Linked DNA regions of Homo sapiens: region 2 is linked to region 1. The links are contacts of gene promoters, found by promoter capture Hi-C in blood cells and fetal thymus (Javierre and others, 2016). All regions are on one chromosome and are shown on one strand. The core of a region is centred on a gene start or on the middle of the fragment in contact, and the rest is flanking DNA. Distances in the headings are between cores, read along the strand shown.

The links. The method cuts DNA at HindIII sites, captures the fragments that hold promoters and counts their contacts. A CHiCAGO score of 5 or more calls a contact.
Region 2: a contact is called between the fragment with the promoter of PCDHGB1 here and the fragment with the promoter of PCDHB6 in region 1, in 10 of 17 cell types (M1 macrophages, M0 macrophages, erythroblasts and 7 more). The highest score is 14.0, in M1 macrophages.

Annotation. Positions count from the first base shown.
Region 1 is chr5:141,146,306-141,151,888 of GRCh38, reverse strand. PCDHB6 (protocadherin beta 6) reads right to left here and starts at 1,832. Exons shown (of 1, transcript NM_018939.4): 1 at 1-1,832. The coding sequence starts at 1,631. It also overlaps PCDHB@. The HindIII fragment of the contact is 6,099 bases long and covers 1-5,118 here.
Region 2 is chr5:141,347,128-141,352,710 of GRCh38, reverse strand. PCDHGB1 (protocadherin gamma subfamily B, 1) reads right to left here and starts at 2,612. Exons shown (of 4, transcript NM_018922.3): 1 at 42-2,612. The coding sequence starts at 2,450. All of the region lies in intron 1 of PCDHGA1 (protocadherin gamma subfamily A, 1), which reads right to left. All of the region lies in intron 1 of PCDHGA2 (protocadherin gamma subfamily A, 2), which reads right to left. The region is part of intron 1 of PCDHGA3 (protocadherin gamma subfamily A, 3); the gene reads right to left. It also overlaps PCDHG@. The HindIII fragment of the contact is 7,439 bases long and covers 1-5,583 here.

The sequences.
Region 1 (5,583 bases), core at 583-3,082:
AGCGCCTCGCTGCTCAACGCCGGGGAGCCGCGGTCTGTGGCGCCCACGCGGAACTCGAAAGACTGCAGGGCCTCGTAGTCCAGCGACCTGAGGGCAAACAGGTGGCCGTTGTCCGCGTTGATGGAGACCAGGGAAGAGAGGGGCAGGTGCGGGTCCTGGGGCGGCAGCAGCGAGTAGGTGACCTGGGCGTTGATGCCTGAGTCTCTGTCTGTGGCGCTGACGCTGCCGATGTGCAGGGCGGGGCTGTTGTTCTCGCGGACGAACAGGGTGTAGGAGGTTTGGGTGAAGGCGGGGGCGTTGTCATTGACGTCGGAGACCTGCACAGTTATGCTCTGCTGGGTTTTCAGCCTTGGTGTCCCCAAATCAGTGACCGTGATAGTGATGTTGTACTCGGCTCTGCTCTCTCTGTCCAGCGCGCCTTCTGTTACCAGGGTGTAGAAATTCTCCACGGAAGGTCTTAGTAGAAAGGGGAGATTGTTCTCTATTGAACAAATAACCTGTTGGTTATGTCCAGAGTCTGCATCTGAAACACTGAAAACTGCCACTGTGATCTCTGGTAAGTTTTCTGGGATGAGGCTGATGAAGAACGACATGGTGAGTTCAGGGGCATTGTCATTCACGTCCAGGACCCTGACGACTAAAGAGCATTTTCCTGATAGGCCTCCACCATCTGTAGCCTCAACATCCACGTCATAAGACTGAATTTCCTCAAAATCCAAAGCCTTTCTCAGCCGAATTTCTCCTGTGATTGCGTTTATTTCGAAGGGTTGGTTGACGTCATCGACTTGAAACAGGGCGTAAGATACCTTCCCAAACGATCCTGCATCTAAATCTCTGGCTGAGACGGTAATAACCAGAGAGCCGAGGGGGTTGTTCTCAGGGACTTGTGCTTCATAGAGCTCCTGAGCAAACTCGGGGACGTTGTCATTGATGTCCAAAACCTGGATCTGAATCTCGGAGGTCCCTGACCGGGGCGGAGACCCGCCATCCAGCGCGATCAGCGTTAGCCTGAGTTGGGGCTGCTCCTCGCGGTCCAACGGTTTGTCTAGCACCAGCTCCGGGAACTTCCTGCCTTCGCTGCGATTGCGGGTGAGAACGTGGAAGTGAGGGTTGGAGCTGATTGTGTACCTCTGAAGGCCGTTGCTGCCGGTGTCTAAATCGTGTGCCATTTTCAAAGGAAATATCTTTCCTGGCATAGTAATTTCTGATATTTTCAGGAGCATTTCTCTGGCAGGGAATTCCGGGGCGTGGTCATTTATATCTCTGACTCGCAAGGAAGCCTGAAAAAACTGCAAGGGGTTTTCCAGTAACACTTGGAAAGGTAGCACACACGGCTCAGTGGAGCCACACAGCTCCTCCCGGTCCAGTTTTTCATTTAGCAGTAAATCATGGGTCTGTGGATCAAACTGCAAATGTTGTCTGTTCCCTTTGAAAACAACCCGAGCGCCCCGCGAAGCCAGCTCCCCCACCCTCAGTCCCAGGTCCTTTGTCAAGTTGGCCACAAACGTGCCACTTTCTGTCTCCTCCAATACGGAATACTGAATCGATTCAGAACCCACCTCTCCCCAAAGCATCAATAAAATGAAGAAAGCCACTTGCCTTTTCTTGTTCTGTACTTTAGTTTGCATCATGTCTATTATGTCTGAATACGGAAGAAAAATCCTTTTCAGCTCCCAATCACCACATCTACCGTCGACCCTCTCGGATGTCTTTGCAGAGATTTTTAAATTCGTTCTTACAACTTGTCTGGCGACGACTGCCTTCCCGGACACATCTATCTCAGCTTTAGCTGTAAACGTGGTCTGTATTTTTACTTGGCTTCTGGATGAAACGGAGTCCACCGAGTCTGCAGAGCTTTCATTCACTCTCTTAGCTTGTACCGCCACCACGCGTTCAAACTAATAACTTCATGAGATGTTTTCAGGTCAATAGCATTTCAGAAATCTGAGCATTATAAAGACTTTTAAGTCGAGTCAGTGTTTCTCAAACTGAGTGCGTGGACCGCATGCATAAATAATTGCTTGCGAGCGTTGGTTTTTTTGTGTGTATGTTTTTGTTTTTAAGCCAATTCCTGGGTTCACTCCCCTCTAGAACTTGAATCAAATTCCCTGGTGGTGCTAATTAAGGAGAAAGATTGAAGTGCAGATTCTACACTTCAGTCTTTCTCCTTTGATGCTTCAGCAGTGCAATTTATCTCTGATGAACTATTTAATCTATTAGTCCAAGAGGTACACTATTTAATTGTCCCAACAAACAATGCAAAACAACGAAGTTTGTTAGCAACAATAATGGTAAAATAAACAATAAATTATCTAAATTATATGACTCATAAATGGCATGAAAAAAAAAACCTACTTTGTTATATAGTTATGCCTGCACAGTAAAAAGAACAATTAGGCTATTAGGAGGAAAACTGAGGCCAAGAAGTACGTATGATACATGTATCTAAGTAAATTAAAGTATTTAAAAGAGGGACTAGAAGCAATCAAGTAGTTGTCATAAGCATTTTAGGATTCTACTCCATTTTTGCATGGATAGAATTAGACATTGTTTTAACAGTCTTGTGCATTTTATTTTTTGATCAAATTCCCCTCTTACATTATTTAATCAAGGTCCAAATATATTACCGTGTTGTACAAACATGATGCAACACAGAAAACAAACATTCAAGAATCACCTTCACCGTCTTCTCACAGCAAAAAGAACACCAAGTCCAATAAATACAGGCCAAATTAAGGTACTGTTAAAACAGGTGAGTTACATTTGAGTGAATGCCATGGAATTCAATGATGGAATATTATGGCTATATCCATTCCCATCTCACTAGTTTCTACTCAGATACATTGGAACATGTATCTCTAAACAAACTGAAAATGTGTGAAATAGATTAGTGCACATAGAAGAGGTAAAATATGCCAAACAATTCAATTCATTTCAGATTAATTTCATATTTATTGAGAGGTGAAATCAATTGAGTTCAAACAAAGTTCACTTCAGGTAAGGGCCAAGGTGATAGAAGATTAAAAATCAAGATATTTTCAAATACATAAATGCTAGGCAAAACAAATAAGGCTAAATAAAATCTAAACTCTGAATAGCTGAGATGATCTTGTAGTTCAAAATCACCTCTATGTAGCCAGAAAAACAAAAGATTATGAATGTGACCAGCCTCCAGGGTTCACTTGATAGATGCTACTGGGAACACACTGTTCCTTGAGAATGTAACAAAATGAAATTATGAAATAAACCAACAATAATAAACATATTGGACTGGTGTCATCTCTTTGCTGAAACAAGGCCATTATTTCCTGCTCAATCTTAAATGCTTCCTTCTTTCGGTGAGCATTCTGAGTTCTGATTCCAGCTTAACGGCATCCACAAAGTCTTTTATTCACTCTGTTTCTCTGAAGCACCACCAGGCATCCTCGAATATAGGTTGTTGAATTATTTTTTTACGTCAGAGCAAATTTATCAGCAGTACAGTATTTGTCAAACTCCATTTAGATCCTTGAAATGTCTTTGATAACATTGGTAGTTATATAGAAAGAGGATAATAGCTCAAAGTACCCCAAAAAGATATCAGTTGGGTCTATCAAGAAACTGCCTTTTTATAGAAAATGGATTACGTTAGATTGTTTCAGGAGAATGTTTCTCTGTGTTGCCCTCTTTTGCTTTGATTTGATTGACTAGAGTAGAGTTGAATTAAGTTTGCATTCGTAAACATGTTCTCACAAGGACTCATTAACTTAAAATTTTTATTATGGAAAAATTCTAACATATACAAAGTAAACAGAATAAGCCTCTGTACACAATCAGTTTCACAACATTCTGTTGTCTTGTTTTGTCTATACCTTTCTCTCCATTCTCTGCTTCCCGCTTAATGATTACTTTTGTATAGTTCTTTTCTTAAGGCAATGTTTACAGAAATTGAAATGCACCAATCTTAACTGTACCATTTTAACAAATGGATTCATGTGTGTAACTCACACTTTTTTCAAGATACGGAACATTTTCATCATTCACTGGAAATCATCTTAATCATATTTTGAAGCTCAGTTTTGTTAACTGGGGAGCAAAACCTTGGTCTCATCTGGACACATGATGGAAAAGTAGACAATGTGAAAAAGCACCATGCCCCATATTCTTTATGCTCATGTATGCTAAAGTGAAGTGATAGATTAATTTAGCTGGACTGTTACCAGCAAGCTGAAATAGTATTTCAACTGACTGAACATTGTAAAGTATGTTAAAATTAATTTTATTTAGTTAGCCTGTAATGACAGGTTGAACAGCCCTTGTCCAAAATGCTTGAGACCAGAAGTGTTTCAGATTTCAGATTTTTTAGATATTAGAATATTTGCATGTACATACCGGGATATCTTGGTAATGAAAACCAAGTCTAAACATGAAATTCATTTAAGTTTCATATACATCTTATACAAATAGGCTGAAGGTAATTTTGCTTAATATTTTTAAACAATTTTGTGCATGAAACAAAGTTTGCATTACGTACTTATGTGTGGAATTTTCTACTTGTGGCATCAGGTTGGCTCAAAAAGTTTTGGGTTTTGGAGCAGTTCCTATTTTTGGATTTTTGGATTAGGGATGCCCAACCTGTACCTGTACTACATAGCTGATCAAGCTGATTTCCATTTTATGTTTCAGTTAATCCCATTATAATTTTAAAAAATTATTCAAGTTTATCAAAAGAGAAAGGAAAAGACCTTCAAGGACAAATTGAATCTCTTAAAACTCTTCTTTAGTTATATAGAAAGAAAAACATAGTAATACAGGGAAAAGTTAGAGATGATATATAAGCAATCACTTAAAGAAACTCAATTAACAGGAGATATGTTGCAAGGAAGTTGAAAATATAAAGGATTTGATACTAAATCACATTTGAAATCTGAAATGATTGGGTAAGACTTTTTGTCAGTATTGCTAGAGGTTTGTCATTTTTTAAAATGTTTTTCAAAGAACCAGTTCTTTGTTTCTTTATTGCTTTCTCTATTTGCTTTGAATTTTCTTGATTTCTTCTATTATCTTTGTTATTTCCTTATTTCTGAATGCTTTGGGTTTATTTTCCTCATCTTTTTCTAGATTCTCGAGGTAGAAGCTTGAAACTGATAAACTGGTGGGTGACCAGTTTGAGAATTTTCCTCTTTTCTAATGTACATATTTAGTGCTATAAAATTTTCCTCTCTGCACTGTGTTAGCTATGTCTCACAAAATTTGATGTGTTGTATTTTCACTTTCAATTCAGGTCAATGTATTTTTAAATTTCCCTTGAGATATTCTTTTTGATTCATAGATTATTTAGAAGTATGTTGCTACATATCCGTGCACTTGAAGGTTTTCCTCTTATCTTTCCATTATTCATTTTTAGTTTAATTTCATTGTGCGTAGAGAACCCACTCTGTACGATTTCACTATTAATTTGGTTGAGGTCAGTTTTACGGCTGAGGTTGTGGTTATCTTATACAGGTTCTGTGAGCATTTGAAAATAATGTGTATTCTGGTATTGTTTATTCTGGTGTATTCTAGTATTTTTTATTCTGGTGTATTCTAGTATTTTTTATTCTG
Region 2 (5,583 bases), core at 1,363-3,862, 200 kb before region 1:
GCCGCCATATATAAAATTTAACTAGATTTGCAGAAACTCACGTGCGAAGACAAAGAAGGGTCATAAGCGATTTTGTGATCTTCATTACTGGCACATACAACCATAGAAGGATCATCACACAGCAGATCCTGAGGGGGAGCCATTTCCGGTGTCAGGTTGAGAGAATTAAACTCTGTCTTTGCAGAATGAGAGGCAATACATAGATTGTAGGAATAGGGCAAAGTCCCCTCGCTGTGGTTGGGAGGAACCCCGGGCCCAGACTTGGAGCAGAGACCGGTTTGAAAGCAGCCCTCAGTGTCGAGGCTGGAGGAACGTCGCAGGCGCAGGGCGATCGCTAGAATCACCGCGAGGAGAAAGAGCACTGAGATCAAGGCCAAGGCCACAACCAGGTAAAACTGCAGTTCCGTCTGGGGGTCAGAGGGCTCAGGGCGGTCGCTGAGGTCTGGCAATACCTCTTGCAGGCTATCCGCGAAGATTAGGTGCAGCGTGGCGGTGGCGGAGAGTGGCGGCTGTCCTCCATCACGCACAGCGACCAGCAGGCGCTGGCGGGCCGCGTCCCTGTCGCCCAAGGCACGCGCTGTGCGCACCTCACCCGTGCGCAACCCCAGGCTGAAGAGCCCGGGCTCGCTGGCCTGCAGCACGTGGTAGGACAGCCAAGCGTTGTGTCCTGAGTCTGCGTCCACCGCCACCACCTTGGTCACCAGGTAGCCGGGCTCTGCGGCGCGTGGCACCATATCGAAGAGGGCGGAGCCATCAGGCCCCAGCGCGGGGTACAGCACCCGTGGCGCATTGTCATTGAGGTCGCCCACCAACACGCGCAGGCTCACGTTGGCGCTGAGCGCGGGGGAGCCCTGGTCCCTGGCCTGCAGTGTGAGCTCGAAGGCGCGCAGCTGCTCGTGGTCGAAGGCGCGCTGCGCGAACACCACCCCGCTCTGCGGGCTCACGGACACGTAGGACAACAGCTCCCGCGGCTCCAGGTCACTGGCCAGAATAGAGTAGGAGACTCTGCCGTTGGGTCCCAAATCCGGGTCGGAGGCGCTTACTTGTGCAATGGAGGCGCCAGGTGGGTTGTTCTCAGACACGTGGACCACATAGGAGGCCTGATGGAAAACAGGTGCATTGTCGTTGATGTCGGAGATGTGCAGGGTGATGCTTGTCCTGGAGGAAAGGGCTGGTTTGCCCTTGTCGGTGGCTATGATTGTGACGTTGTAGTCTGCTGTCTGCTCCCGGTTTAGGGCTCCAGCAATCACCAGCTTGTAATAATTCTTCGAGGTGGATTCTAATTTGAAAGGAACTTCTTCCTGAGTATAGCATGTCACCATGCCATTTTGCCCAGAATCCTTGTCTCGCACTTTTATGAGGGCTATTACAGTTCCAAGGTCTGAATCCTCTGGAATCTGGTTAGAGAAGGACATGAATGTCACCTCTGGGGCATTGTCATTCTCGTCAACAATTTCTATTTGAACATTACAGTGAGCTGTGTGTACTCCTCCATCCTTAGCTTCCACACTCAACACATATCTACTTGTCTCTTCAAAATCCAATGTGCCATTGGTTGTGATGTCGCCAGTATTTGGATTGAGATTGAAGAGGCTGGTACTTATTGGGGAATTGAGGAAGGCATAGGTGATCTCTGCATTAATGCCCTCATCCTGGTCTGTGGCCATCACCCGCAGCACGGAGGTTCCCCACGGTACGTTTTCTTGGAGGCTAACCCTGTATACCTCCTGGCTAAACACGGGAGCATTATCATTGGCATCCGTAACTCGGATCCAGATATGGGTGGTGCCGCTTAGAGGCGGGTCCCCGCCATCCATGGCAGTCAGGATTAAGCGATGAGAGCTCTGATGTTCCCTGTCTAGAGGTTTTTCCAGCAGTAATACCGGATATTTACTTCCATCAGGACTTTCCTTCGTTGACAGAGAGAAGTATTGATTGGGGTTGATGGTGTATAACTTCAGTGAATTGCCTTCCACATCTGCATCTTGAGCAGAATCCAGAGAGAATTTTACCCCGGGTAAGGCTGACTCACAAATTTCTAAGTCAATGCCTTTTGCAACGAAACGTGGTGCATTGTCATTAATATCTTGGATTACAACAACCACGTGGAAAACATTCATTGGGTTTTCAGCGACCGTTTCGAATTCTAGTGCACACTCAAGTTTCCTTCCGCAAATCTTCTCTCGATCTATCCTACCGTTCACTAACAAATCCCCGCTCTCCAAACTAACGTTGAAATAATCCTCTGCACTAACCCGCAGTTTTCGAGTTGGCAACTCCCGGACACTGAGCCCCAGATCCTTGGCAAGTTTCCCCACCCGTGAGCCGTTGGCTAGCTCCTCTGGAATCGTGTATCGGATCTGCTGGGAGATGGCCCCGCAGAACAAAGACAGCAGGAAGGGAAACAGTACCTGACTTTTCATCATTTCGGCTTCTCTGGCTCTCTGCATTTCAGGAACTCTCCGCGGAGCTTCTTTCCTCTGGGATGTTTTTCAAAAAGAAATGGCAGCACCCTGGACTTCTGTGATTTGAGCTTAGGACTTATTAGTTAGGCGCTCGAGGGTGAACAGGAGCAGCGTCTGTGCTCAGTGCACCGGACAAAGCAGGAAGGCACCCTGCCTGACGCTCCTGCAGAATTGAGAAGCCTTCACTTCCTTTTGGTCGACAGCGGCGCCCAGAGGTTGTCTTGGAAAACTGCACAGGGCCCAGCTTTTTATCCTCAAAGCGCAACCTCTTGAATCTATGTACCCTGTCTTTAATTTGCTGGAGGGAAACACATACTCACATTTTCCCCTTTACATTTCAGTTTTCTAGTTTGTCATCATCAGATAAGGGCCTTCATCATTTCGTATTCTTTTTTCATTTAAAAAATTCACAAGGTACACTGCCATTTTTTTCAGTTTTGGGGGTAAAAAAAAATCTTCAGTGATTTCACTATATTTATAAACTCTGGCATGACTGCTGTATCCAAATAAGTGAATTGATAATTTTTATTTATATTTTTAGTTGACTAAAATACCTACCTTTCTGTAAATTCATTGGAATAAGCTCCCTTATCTAGTATTTTAAATCTCTCCATATATATGTTATCAATTCAGTAATACTTTTCAAAAATAGTTTTTGCAAAAAAGAGGAAATCACAGCCTTACTATTATGTTATTTCTCTTCTTTATAAAATATAGATAATCTTTCCAGTTAAGTAGGACAAAGTCTGATATTTTGTTAAAAGGGCCAATTTAGTGTTGGGGTACACATACATGCTTTTATGAAGTGGAATCTCATATAATGTACATTTGTTTTATGAAACCAGTGCTTCTTTTTTATATGAATGTATATTAAATACTCTAGGCTGGGTGCAGTGACCTGTGATCCCAGCACTTTGGGAGGCCAAGGTGGGAAGAACACATGAGGTCAGGAGTTTGAGACTAGCCTGTCCAACATGGTGCAAGCCATCTCTACTAAAAAAAATAAAAATTATCCAGGCATGGTGGCGGGTACCTGTAACGCCAGCTACTCGGGAGGTTGAGGCAGCAGAATCACTTAACTCAGGAGGCAGAGGTTGCAGTGAGTTGAGATCATGCCACTGAAGTCCATCCTGGGTGACAGAGCAAGACTCTGTCTCAAAAACATTCTCTATAATGCCAATTCTCAGCTCCAGCCGACTTATACCATTAATGAGCAAAACGAGTTTGACTTGACCACTGGTAAATATTGGAGAGGTATTCAGAGTTCTTAGACACCCAATTTTGGAACTTATTCTGTAGTTCCAGGCTTAGAACCAGTCTTGGTTCAAAGCAAATCCCTTTATTTCAAATGCATTACCAAATGAGATCCAACTCAACAATTTATTCTACTATTTTGCAGTGCTCACCCATACTCATACTCTATTCGAAACAGCCTATTATCTGTTTTCTTAAGATACCTTTTCACTTGTTTCCTTGCATCATGCCTTTATACTTTCCATTCCTTTTACTATGAACTTCTCCTCCCTTTCTGTTGTAGTGGATTCTTGCCCATTCTTCAAAAAAATAAAAATAAATCCTTTTTAGTGAAAATGGGATGTCTGAGACCTTCCATTACCTGTACAAGTAGGTGGAATTGTATGGGTTCCATACTCTCAGTGTATTTTCATGACACATATGTAGGCTATGTTTCATATAGAATTCTTAGAAATTATCTTTGAGCATCCAAATTTCCCCTGACACAGCTAATTAATTTTTTTTCTCCTTACAGGGAAAGTGATACTAATACTATAAACATTTTTTTTTCTAAAAATGATATGTTAAAAGTTACGTGCCTTTTTCTTTTGAGACAGGGTCATGCTATGTTGCCCAAGTAGGTCTCAAAGTCCTAGGCTCAGAAGTCCTCCCCTGGCTATGGGCCTTTTAAATTCTGTGATGTATTTCCATGTTTCAGTGAGAATACACCTTACTCTGCTTACAGCTTTTGTGTTCTGGCCCTGTTGTCTCATACATTTAAATGTGCCTTTTCCTAATATATTGAGGGAGGAATCTATTCTTTTGTTTGAGTTCTAATAAAACATATTTTGGTCTAATTTTGGATAACTCTCATATGATTTCATGAGTGAAAATAATTTCATAAATTGCAGAATAAGCCAACAATTTCTGGCTCAAGAAAGTTGTAGAACATGACAAAAGAAGGGACTTCTATTCCATTGTTGGAAGAGATTGTCTGGAAATCTCCCGCAGAGGCTGAGACATATTCCTTTACATGTTTTTGATGTCCTTCTCAAGGACAAGAAATACCACTCCAAGGCTCATAATAATTTAGCTAGGTGAGCTTTCCACCCTCAGGCAAAATGTTGAAATCAAAATGAATACACACATAAGCATATACATTAGGCATATGTAACAGGCACTATAGGTAAAACCATTTGACCAGCCTCTACTTTTTTTTTTTTTTTGAGATGGAGTCTCTCTCTATTGCCCCAGCTGGAGTGCAGTGGCCCAATTTTGGCTCTCTGCAACTTCTGCCTCCTGGGTTTAAGCAATTCTTCTGCCTCAGCTTCCCAAGTAGCTTGGATTACAGGCGCCCACCACCATGCCCAGCTAATTTTTGTATTTTTAGTAGAGACAGGCTTTCACCATGTTGGCCAGGGTGTTCTTGAACTCCTGACTTCAAGTGATCCACCTGCCTCAGCCTCCCAAAGTGCTGGGATTACAGCATGAGCCACTGCACCCAGCCTCTACATTTTTGTTCTCCAATTTTTATGTTATTGAGATGAAAAGAATAACAGGCCAGGCATGGTGGCTCATGCCTCTAATCGCAGTACTTTGGGAGGCTGACGTGGGCAGATCACTTGAGCTCAGGAATTTCAGACCAGCCTGGGAAACATAGCAATTGCCCCATCTCTACAAAAACAAAAACAAATTAGCTGGGAGGGTGGCTCGTGCCTGTAGTCCCAGCTACTCGGGAGGCTGAGGTGGGAGGATCACTTGAGTCTGCGAGGTCAAGGCTGCAGTGAGCCGTGATCATGCCACTGCACTCCAGACAGAGTAAGACCCTGTCAAGAAAGAAAGAAAGAAAGAAAGAAAGAAAGAAAGAAAGAAAGAGAGAAACAGA